Regions from separate parts of the Homo sapiens genome. Here regions 1, 2 and 3 are each linked to region 4. Evidence: promoter capture Hi-C in human tissues and cell types (Jung and others, 2019). All regions are on one chromosome and are shown on one strand. The core of a region is centred on a gene start or on the middle of the fragment in contact, and the rest is flanking DNA. Distances in the headings are between cores, read along the strand shown. Region 1 has its middle 3.1 kb from the start of MEIOB. Region 2 overlaps MEIOB (meiosis specific with OB-fold). Region 3 overlaps MEIOB (meiosis specific with OB-fold). Region 4 holds the start of PTX4 (pentraxin 4).

Region 1 (2,700 bases), core at 24-2,523, 390 kb after region 4:
GCTCAGGCGTTCGAGGCCAGACTGGCCCAACGTGGTGAAACCCCATCTCTACTAAAAATACAAAAATTAGCCAGGCATGGTGGCGGGAGCCTGTAATCCCAGCTACTCGGGAGGCTGAGGCAGGAGAATCGCTTAAACCTGGGAGGCAAAGGTTGCAGTGAGCCAAGATTACGCCACTGCACTCCAGCCTGGGTGACAGATGGAGACTCCATCTCAAAAAAAAAAAAAAAAAAAAAACAAAAAAAAAAAACCTATCTTTATCTTTCCAAAAGAATAAACTAGTGGCCGGGGGCAGTGGCTCACGTCTGTAATCCCAGCACTTTGGGAGGCCAAGGTGGGCGGATTGCCTGAGCTCAGGAGTTGGCCACCAGCCTGGGCAACACGGTGAAACCCCATCTCTACTAAAACACAAAAAATTAGCCAGGCGTGGTGGCATGCGCCTTTAGTCCCAGCTACTCGGGAGGCTGAGGCAGGAGAATTGCTTGAACCCAGGAGGTGGAGGTTGCATTGAACCAAGATCGGGCCACTGCACTCCAGCCTGGGCAACAGAGAGAGACTCTGTCTCAAAAAAAAAAACACAAAATAACAAAATAAAATAAACTAGCATTTTAAGTCCATCTTAAAGGAGAGGAAAAAATATAAAAATAGTTTTCATGCATTTTTCATTTGAGCCTCAGTGAAGCAATAATATTCTAAAATTTTTTAAATTTTGTCACGTTTTAGTAAATTAATTTTTGCAGAAAGCTACATAAGGTTAAGCAAACAGTGTCAGCCTTGCCAGGACACAACAGGCTTCTCATAAGCCACGATGCTTCAAAATACAAGCCTAAAAGAGTGGAATTGCTTCACGCTCGTGAAATTAAGTCTCCCTTGTTGTGTACGGAATTTGTTTCTTCCATTTTTTATAGCAGTTCTGTGAAATTGGCTTGCTCTTAACAATAGGATTGACTTGTCAATATATTTTGGATGTACACGAACAGAAATAAGGACTAGAAATGCTAGCTTGCCCTTGCCGCTTGATGCAGAAGTCAAGGGTGAGCGAACAAGGGTCAGAGCTGAAATAGCTCACATGTCTGGCTAAAGAAACGGTAGTTGGCTACATGGTCAGCTCCCCAGAGCATGCCAGCTGTCAAAACATCTAGGAGCTGTCACAAAGGAGTGACAGGCAAAATATATAGTCATAAACTTTACACGTTCTAATCAGTAGAAACGTTGACAGTTATTTTAATGAATTACAAGATAGAAATTCATTAAAAATTGACAGTTATTTTAATGAATTACAAGATAAGCTTTTATTTATTTAACAAAACTATAACTTTTCCAGCATTGATCCCGTGACTATGGTCTTCCTCCCAGGAGCTGAAATACTAATAGATCAGTTACTGGCATAATTAGTCTCACCCCCACTCGTCACTCCATCAAAGGACTGATCATCTTTTTTGTTTTTCTCCCAAAACAGGGTCTCACTCTGTCACCCAGGCTGGAGTGCAGTGGCACGATCACAGTTCACTGCAGCCTCGACCTCCCTGGGCTCAGGTGATCCTCCCACCTCAGCCTCCCGTGGGACCGTAGGTGCACACCACCACGCCGGCTAAGTTTTGTATTTTTTTGTAGAGATGGGGTCTCGCTATATTGCCCAAGCTGGTCTTGAACTCCTGGACTCAAGCAATCTTCCTGCCTCAGCCTCCCAAAGCACTGGGATTATAGGCATGAACCACTGTGCCTGGCCTAATCATGTTTTAAATAGATTGTAGGCCAGGCGTGGTGGCTCACCCCTGTAATCCTAGCATTTTGACAGACTGAGGCGGGTGGATCACCTGAGGTCAGGAGTTCGAGACCAGCCTGGCCAAGATGGTGAAACCCCATCTCTACTAAAAATACAAAAATTAGCCGGCATGGTGGCACATGCCTGTAATCCCAGCTACTTGGGAGGCTGAGGCAGGAGAATCACTTGAACCCGAGAGGCGGAGGTTGCACTGAGCCAAGATTGCGCCATTGCACTGCAGCCTGGGCAACAAGAGTGAAACTCCATCTCAGAAAAAATAATAATAATAAATAAATAAATAAATAGGTTGTAGATACACTAACATTTACAGATTTTTTGTAAACTTTTGCAGAAGTTTATGTAGAGAAGAGGAGTGAGGTAACCTGCAAAAGGGACTGGAAGAACTAGATGTGGAAATCGTGTTTAGGGCCAAAAAGAAGCAATTTAAGAGCTACTGGAGGCCGGGCGTGGTGGCTCACACCTATAATCCCAGCACTTTGGGAGGCCAATGTGGGCGGATCACCTGAGGTCAGGAGCTGGATACCTACCTGGGCAACGTGGCGAAACCCCGTCTCTACTGAAAACACAAAAATGTATTGTGGTGGCAGGTGCCCGTAATCCCAGTTACTCGAGAGGCTGAAGCAGGAGAATTGCTTGAACCTGGGAGGTGGAGGTTGCAGTGAGCCGAGATCGCGCCACTGCGCTCCAGCCATTTGCAGCATTGCCAAGTATGTAAAGCTCAGCTCCTAAGCTCTTTTAAGACTCCGTCTCAAAAAAATAAATAAATAAATAAAAATTTTAAAAAAGGTTGAACGGTGAATTGAAACTGGAACTGAAAGCCTCAGGACAAGGTGAGAGGTGCTGAGCTGAAGTGAGTAACGTGCTGGGCTTGAAATAACTCAGCATCCGTAGTCCGTGCCCAGGGACCTGGAGTG
Region 2 (2,700 bases), core at 13-2,512, 350 kb after region 4:
CACCCTCCCCATTCACCTGGCTTCACAAACCCCCCAGTTCTCCCCAAGGGAGGATGGAAGGCCTGTTCTGCACAACTAGGTCAAGTCGTTCATTACCTTATCACCACAATTTGGACACTTAGGGGTGAACCTGCATCCCTCCTCTGTGGCTGCACATGGTAAAAGCCAGATAAAACATGACTGACGATGGTTTATCTCCCAACACCAGCCTTAGGAAACAGTTTCATATACTCACTTTTTCCTTTTTTTTCAATCCTGTGGTGGAGGGCATGTAGCCTTCTAAAGTACCAGGTCAAACCTCCCAGGCCGTGGGTCAACACTGACCTTAGCGGTGGGTCTTCACAGCTGGAGTCTGCGCCCTGAAGCAAGTGACTCTCAATGGTGTGCAGTTGAGCCGTTTACTTTGTGGCTGCTGCAAAGCAAACAGATAAAGTGGCAGCTGTCGTCCTCATGTCCTGAGTAGGTCCCCCTCAGAGTTCTGAGACCCAGGCATGCTCATGAACCTTTTGAAGTTGGTCTCCTCCCAGTTGATTCAGACTCAGTCATGTCAGCCCTGAGCCAGCAAGCCTCCACAAGCACTGGGCACTCCAGTGTGTCACCAGAGAAGACCAGGGACTAGAAGAGCCCCAGGTGCTCAAAGCAGTCGCACAGGATTGCCCACGACTTTGGCTATTCCCACCCAGCACCAAGAGCCCCTTGCCCTCATCCTGTCAGATCTGTCAGATGACGAGTCACCACCCAGCTCTCAGAAAGTAGTCTTTAGAGGTACTTTTTTTTTTTTTTTTTTTTTTTTTAAGACAGAGTCTCGCTCTGTCGCCCAGGCTGGAGTGCAGTGGCTGGATCTCAGCTCACTACAACCTCCTCATCCCAGGTTCAAGAGATTCTCCTGCCTCAGCCTCCCGAGTAGCTGGGACAACAGGCACGTGCCACCACACCCAGCTAATTTTTTGTATTTTTAGTAGAGATGGGGTTTCACTGTGTTAGCCAGGATGGTCTCGATCTCCTGACTGCCTTGGCATCCCAAAGTGCTGGGATTACAGGCATGAGCCACCGTGCCCAGCCCTTGAGGTCCTACTCTTTTTCCAGGGAACCAAGACAAATAATAAACTGGCTTAAGAAAATAAATCATTCACTCAGGATTAAGAAACTCACTCAAAGCCGTTCAACTACATGGAAAAGAAAATAAATCATTCAAATCTGTAGAAGATTAAATCTGTTTATTAATTCATGTAAACATTTTCCAACTTGGGAGGAGACAAGGCAAAGACAGTAGGAGGCCTTCTAAGAAGGGAGGTCAGATGAGAGAGGCCTTCAGACTCACCCAGACCACCTCCACCATAACAATTTCTAGAAACATGTTCACCACATGTAAACAAAATGCAATTTTCCCCATAATTTTCAAATTAATATTCCATTTTAAAGGGAGTTAAAACTCTTATACTTTTCCAGAGTTCAAAATGATAGACCGTTTTAAACATGTTTTTGTCCAGACAAGTTTCTGCTTGCCTCAGTAGGATCTGCAAGCTTGCACGAGAGTACACTAATTTTCAATCCACTCCTTGCTCTGTGTGATAGAACGAACTGCGAGGAGAAACAGAAAAAGAGACAAAAGGTTAATTTTTAAAATCCCCTTGTATATCAAGTTGAAAAATCAATGATCACGAATAGAGAACTGCAATGAAAGTTTTGTTTACAGATACTAATATAAACTTCCATTAGAGCTGTAAGATGATGGGAAGAGTTCCAGTCTCGGAGTACAGTTAATTTACAGGCCCAGCTTCTGACTGATTTTGTAAAAATTTTGTCACTTTTCATGCTATTTCTCTCAGGTAGGAAAGTTGGGATTAAAAGTCTAATGTGGCCGGGTGCTGGTGCAGTGGCTCACGCCTGTAATCCCAGCACTTTGGGAGGCCAAGGCGGGTGGATCACCTGAGGTCAGGAGTTCGAGACCAGCCTGGCTAACATGGTGAAACTCCCATTTCTACTAAAAATACAAAAAATTAGCCGGGCATGGTGGCACACACCTGTTATCCCAGCTACTCAGAAGGCTGAGGCAGGAGAATCCCTTGAACCCGGGAGGCAGAGGTTGCAGTGAGCAGAGATTGTGCCATTGCACTCCAGCTTGGGCAACTAGAGCGAAACTCTGTCCCCCCCACCCCCCCCCACTAAAAAAAATGTCTAATGCAGGGCTGGGTGAGGTGGCTCATGCCTGTAATCCCAGCACTTTGGGAGGCCAAGGCAGGTAGATCACTTGAGGCCTGAAGTTCAAGACCAGCCTGGCCAATAAAGTGAAACCCTGTCTCTACTAAAAATATAAAAATTAGCCAGGTGTGGTGGTGCACACCTGTGGTCCCAGCTACTCGGTGGCTGAGGCGGGAGGATCACTTGAGCCTGGGAAGGTTGAGGCTGCAGTAAGCTGTGATCGCACCACGTGCTCCAGCCTGTGTGACAGAGCGAGCAGAGTGAGACTGTGTCTCAAAAAAAAAAAAAAGTATAACATATGAAAAAGGGCTTAATGTGTGTTCAAACTACCAACTGTGATAGACTTTAAGCTGTAGCAGGGACTCAATCTGTGAGACTACAGGAATATGATGACATAATTTAATAATAGTCTTATTTTAATAGTCTTATTTTTTATAATTTATACAGCACTTTAACCAACATTTTATTTAATATAGAGTGGAAGGACATATCAACCAC
Region 3 (2,700 bases), core at 102-2,601, 360 kb after region 4:
TGGGTGTTCCTCCCACACATAGGCACAGGGCTTTCCCTTGGTTATCCCTTTAGCCTCCTCATCAAGTCTTTGCTCAAACGTCACTCTCCCATGCAGCGTGCCCGACCACCTTGTGGCTCTCTAGGTCCTCCTGACTCTGTTCCACCTGTTCTCCTTAAATATTTCATAATTCACGGACATATTATCTTCATTATTTATTCTCTGTCTCTCCCTGCTGGAGGGTAAACTCCATGAGGGTGGAAATATTTATCCATTTTGTCGTTGCACCCCAGAACAGCACCCAGCATACAGCACATGCTCAGTAAATTAGTTCAGTGAAGAGCAATTCGGGGCATGCACATCTCCTCCCATGGTGCTGCCTTCAAGGAGACAACATCCATGTGTTGGATGTGCAAGATTCAGAGTACTCATATAAAAACCAGAGTCTCAGTATTTTACACCATTCCTCATAGTAATTCTATCTTTTAAAAATGCTGATAATGGTTTGGTCAAAAGCACACATTGCTTTATAATTCTGTCACTGCTGATGCTTTGTTACAGACCAGCAGCGTGAGCGTATGTTTTAAATGATACACTACATACTGTACTCATAGCTTCATGAGATGGCAAAGGATTGATTACTCCATTTCTTTAGCAGTACTGGCTTGACGGTTATGTCTGCACTATAAAGCACCCTGGGAATGCTCACAGGCACTAATCCCTCATCTCCCCAATCTGGCTTCCTTGATTTCATGCTGTAATAAACTGTAACTCCTTCAACAACCACTCCAGGGGATCATCTGGGCATTTAATGTGCAGTTATGAGCTAATGATACTACACAGAGAGTACTGTGTGCACGCATGCATGTGTTATCAATGTCCTAGCAGTAAAAGTTATTTGAATGTAGCAAAACTGAATTTACCTATTAGTCAATAATTTAGCATCCAAGCAATAAAATCGATCTCTCAAAAATTATCACAATGAATTATACTTTAAAATTAATCTGGTTTTTCACTTTTTTTTTTTTTTTTTTTTTTTTTTTGAGACGGAGTCTCGCTCTGTCGCCAGGCTGGAGCGCAGTGGTGCAATCTCGGCTCACTGCAACCTCCACCTCCTGGGTTGAAGTGATTCTCCTGCCTTAGCTTCCCGAGTAGCTGGTACTACAGGCGCACACTTTTACGCTCGGCTAATTTTTCTATTTTTAGTAGAAACAGGGTTTCACCATGTTGGCCAGGATGGTCTCAATCTCTTGACCTCGTGAGCAGCCCACCTTGGCCTCCCAAAGTGCTGGAATTACAGGTGTGAGCCACCGCGCCAGCCTTGTTTTTTTTTTAAGACGGGGTCTTGCTCTTGTGGCCTAGGCTGGAGTACAATGGCGCGATTTCAGCTCACTGCAATTTCTGCCTCCTGGGTTCAAGTGATTCTCCTGCCTCAGTCTCCCGAGTAGCTGGGATTACAGGCGCCCACCACCAAGCCCAGCTAATTTTTATATTTTTAGTAGAGACTGGGTTTCACCATGTTGGCCAGTCTGGTCTTGAACTCCTGACCTCAGGTGATCCACCTGCCTTGGCCTCCCAAAGTGCTGGGATTACAGGCATGAGCCACCACGTCCGACCTCACATTTCTTTAGTAAAGATATCAAAGTTCATTGTAAGTTTTTAAAAAAGTTATATAAAGCAATTTTTACTTCTAATTTGAATTAAATCCAGGCTGAATTTTCATTCTTAAATATACTGTATAAATATTGAAATGTGTTCAGTCATTTCCAAAGGGATAAAAGGTTTCACAAAGTTTTTTACCTGGATTAGTTGTAATAATGGTTTTTGAGATTACAGTTGCTGTCATGCAGTTCCGAAATTTGTCAAAATTTATTCTTACATCTGAGGCAAATATTACTGTTTGGGAAAAAAGCCATTTAAAATTATTACATGGGAGGATATAAATGACAAATATTGGACACAATCATTGAATGATAATACCTGTTTCTCGTGGCATCCAGCTCTGTGCAAGTAGAATGGATTCATTATCCCAACTGCATTTGTTTAAAAAGAAGTAATACAAATTGAATACACTAGAAAAAACTGATAGTGACATATTATTTACAACAATAAAAGAAAGCTTCAGTGGCTGGGGTCAGCCATCCCCAAGGTGGTCAAAGACCTCCTAGTCTTAAGCATGCCAGCTTCCTCCTAGGGAGAATTTAACAACTCCATGAGAGAACATTCCTTCAACACACACTCTCCTCTAGTAATACTCTGCTCTGCCAATTCTTAATTTATTTTTCCAACACTTAATCACTCCAGGCTAGTTAGAACTAAAGCCTGAAGACTTTAAACTCACACTTTCAGACCATGAAGGTGAGTGTCCCCCAGTGGATAAACTGCTCAGGGGCCTTGATGGGTTGAAGACATTTTTGAAATCAGTTCCTTTGGTACCCAGGCATCAGAGGTCTAGACAATGCCTTGTTGTACCTGGCAGTGCTTCAGGGTGCAGTCCCCACCCTGGCCCACGTGCCCCTGTGTCCTGCCCTGCTCCAGGATACTTCCCAGGAAGCACAGAGGGAAACTCTGGCTTGTTCCATGGGACCTAATAAAACATCATTTGTTACACGACAGAATTCAATAATAAAACTGGGCACGGTGGAGTCCCCCTAAGCAATTCCATGCCATCTAAAGACCTCATTTTAAGGTGGTATCCATAACAACTCAACATTCAAGAGT
Region 4 (2,718 bases), core at 169-2,668:
GCTGGGTTGGGGTTGGGACCAGGGCCGGCCCGAGGGCTGCAGTGCCAGGGTGGGCCACGGGCAGCCGCCCCTCCAGAGCAGCCAGCCTGGCGCCCTGGCTGTGGACGAGGCCCTCCAGGCGTGCCAGTGAGTCCTGCAGGGCGTCCCTCTGGGCCTTGTGTGCCTTCCTTTCCCGGGCCCGCTGCTGGCTCCTCTCGCCCAGGGTGAGGTCCAAGGCCCGCAGCCGCGTGTCTACTTTCCGGCCTCGGCGCTGCAGCTTCCTCACCCAGGCCTTGAGCTGCGCCAGCTCCCCCTGCACCGAGGCCTGTGACCGGTTGACTGCCTGAGCCACAGCCTGGCTCTCTTCCGCCAGGCTCCGGAACCGGACGTCAACGTTGTAGGACACGTTGTAGTTGCTGGCGATGTTCTGCAGGTGTGTCCAGGTCACCTCCTGGAATCTCCGGAACTGTAAGGAGGACACGGTGATGATGGGGCGGGCCGGGCCGGGCCGGCTGGGCGGGACGGGAAAGGCTTTGCCCTCTCAAGTTGGGAGCAGCGGCCGCGTGCCCGGGCCACGGCCAGCACTGGCTATCTGCCCACCGATTTGATCCCCACTGCGATGCCGTGAGATGTGGTGGGTGCCAGGGACTGACCCCAGGCCATGCAGCTGCACCACGTGGGGTGTGGACTCCAGGCCCACAGCTGGGGCTCTGATCCCCACCGCTCACCCCATAACCACCGGCAAGTCACTTTCCCTCGTGATTCCAGCTCCTGCCTGTGAGCAGGGGACGGCAGGGTGGCCTCATGAGTGCTTTACGAGGCCCAAACAGGAAGCACCCAGCGCAGGCCCGACAGGCCCACAGCACTCCGGAACTGTCCGTGGACCCCGCGTGGGAGTCCGGGAGGCCGTTCACACCGACTGCCACAAGGTGGACCTGTGACCTCCCAGTTTCCACTCCCCATGACACTACCCGGCCCCCATGGCCCCCAGTTCCCCTGACTCCCTTCCAGACCCCCTTCTAGCCTCTGGCCCCACCTGACCCCCACATGTTATGAGGCTTGTGTCCTGTGTGAGTGGAGCCCAGCTCAGCTCTTCCCTGGTGTCCAACTGCAGGTGAAATAATCTTCATGGATGGAAAGAGCGTCACACGCGGTGTTCGTGTCCGCCAAGCCCTGATGTTTACCAATCTGCTTCTGTAACATCCGTCTTCCATCTGCTGCCAATTTAAAAACCCGACTGCGCCATGTCAGGGGTATAACTTGCCTGTTCCTCCAGCCTACGGAGCCTCTCGAAAAACGGTTTCCTGGGCCCCACTGGGGCGGCTTCCTGCGATGAAGCCCCATGTAGATATATAGGCACAAAAACAAGGAAGAAAGACAAGGTCTTCCTCCACGAGCAACCCATCCGGAGAGACGGCAAGGCCCCAGCAGTCTCCCTCCAGCCGCAGGAGAGGGTGAAGGTGGCTCCGTGGGTCTGTCTTGTGTCTCGTCCCCCCAGCTCTCCTGTTGAGTGGTTTTCCTTCTTTGGCCCTGGCTGGATGTCAGGTTCTTCCTGCCGCCTCCATGAAAGGCATCTGCCTTCAAGCCAGTGGGCTCTGAGACTTGCAGGTTCCTAAGGAGACAAGCTTAAAACAGATGCAAACAGTTTCTTTGAAGAATCATTCAGCTGGGTGCAAGCCCGCGGGCAGGAGGCGATGGCTTTAACAGGAGCACATGGACTTGTGCTCCCGAGAAGTCGAAGCAAGACAGGGAACCCGACGGGGGCTGGGGAGTCAACAGAGCCAGGTCTGCACAGGCACCCATCACCCAGGCCGTGCACGGCTGCATCCTGGGAGGCCCCGTCTCTCTCAGTAAAGCAATGGAAATGTGACTGGGAGCCACCTTAATTAATTAATTATTATTATTATTTGAGATGGAGTCTCGTTCTGTTGCCTAGGCTAGAGTGCAATGGCGCAATCTCAGCTCACTGCAACCTCTGCCTCCCCGGCTCAAGCGATTCTCCTTCCTCAGCCTCCTGCCTCCTGAGGAGCTGGGATTACAGGCGTGCTTTACCATGCCCGGCTAATTTTAGTATTTTTAGTAGAGATGGGGTTTCACTATGTTGGTCAGGCTGGTCTCAAACTTCTGACCTCATGATTTGCCTGCCTCAGCCTCCCTAAGTGTTCGGATTACAGGCATGAGCCACTGCGCCTGGCCAATTAATTAATTTTTTTGACGGAGTCTTGCTCTGTCACCCAGGCTGGAGTGCAGTGGTGCGATCTCCGCTCACCACAAGCTCCGCCTCCTGGGTTTAACGGATTCTCCTGTCTCAGCCTCCCAAGTAGCTGGGATTACAGGTATGTGCCCCCACATCCGGCTAATTTTTGTATTTTTAGTAGAGACGGGGTTTCACCATGTGGGCCAGGCTGGTCTCAAACTCCCGACCTCAGGTGATCCACCCGCTGTAGCCTCCCGAAATGCTGGGATTACAGGCATGAGCCACCGCGCCCGGCCAATTTTTGTATTTGTAGTAGAGACGGGGTTGCCCCATGTGGGCCAGGCTGGTATTTTTGGTTACAGGTTGTGTACTGGCTTGAATGAGACCCTCCTAAAAACACACATAAGCCCCAGGCAGGGCCTTATGTGGAAAAGGTCTCTGCGGATGTCATGAAGGATTTTGAGATGAGACCATCCTGGATTATCCAGGTGGCCCTAAAGCCAATGACAGGGGTACAAGAGACAGAGGAGGAGGCACAGAGG

What was found. The method cuts DNA at HindIII sites, captures the fragments that hold promoters and counts their contacts. A contact is called where the count stands out against the background at its distance.
Region 1: a fragment that was not itself captured here is called in contact with the fragment with the promoter of PTX4 in region 4 in 2 of the 25 tissues and cell types used here (dorsolateral prefrontal cortex and spleen).
Region 2: a contact is called between a fragment that was not itself captured here and the fragment with the promoter of PTX4 in region 4, in 3 of the 25 tissues and cell types used here (dorsolateral prefrontal cortex, lymphoblastoid cells and spleen).
Region 3: a contact is called between a fragment that was not itself captured here and the fragment with the promoter of PTX4 in region 4, in 4 of the 25 tissues and cell types used here (dorsolateral prefrontal cortex, lymphoblastoid cells, spleen and 1 more).

What each region holds. Positions count from the first base shown.
Region 1 is chr16:1,873,955-1,876,654 of GRCh38, forward strand. No RefSeq gene overlaps it. Among named protein-coding and RNA genes, the nearest start is that of MEIOB, 3.1 kb to the left of the region's middle. The HindIII fragment of the contact is 5,420 bases long and covers 1-2,700 here.
Region 2 is chr16:1,832,786-1,835,485 of GRCh38, forward strand. MEIOB (meiosis specific with OB-fold) reads right to left here. Exons shown (of 14, transcript NM_001163560.3): 14 at 1,201-1,581. The coding sequence ends at 1,471. It also overlaps a transcript of FAHD1 not described here. Among named protein-coding and RNA genes, the nearest start is that of FAHD1, 6.9 kb to the left of the region's middle. RefSeq lists a silencer at 63-357. The HindIII fragment of the contact is 8,140 bases long and covers 1-2,700 here.
Region 3 is chr16:1,851,260-1,853,959 of GRCh38, forward strand. It overlaps MEIOB (meiosis specific with OB-fold), which reads right to left. Exons shown (of 14, transcript NM_001163560.3): 8 at 1,960-2,012; 9 at 1,780-1,875. Among named protein-coding and RNA genes, the nearest start is that of MEIOB, 20 kb to the right of the region's middle. The HindIII fragment of the contact is 5,559 bases long and covers 1-2,700 here.
Region 4 is chr16:1,487,526-1,490,243 of GRCh38, forward strand. PTX4 (pentraxin 4) reads right to left here and starts at 1,419. Exons shown (of 3, transcript NM_001328608.2): 1 at 1,244-1,419; 2 at 1-445. The coding sequence starts at 1,384. The HindIII fragment of the contact is 5,905 bases long and covers 788-2,718 here.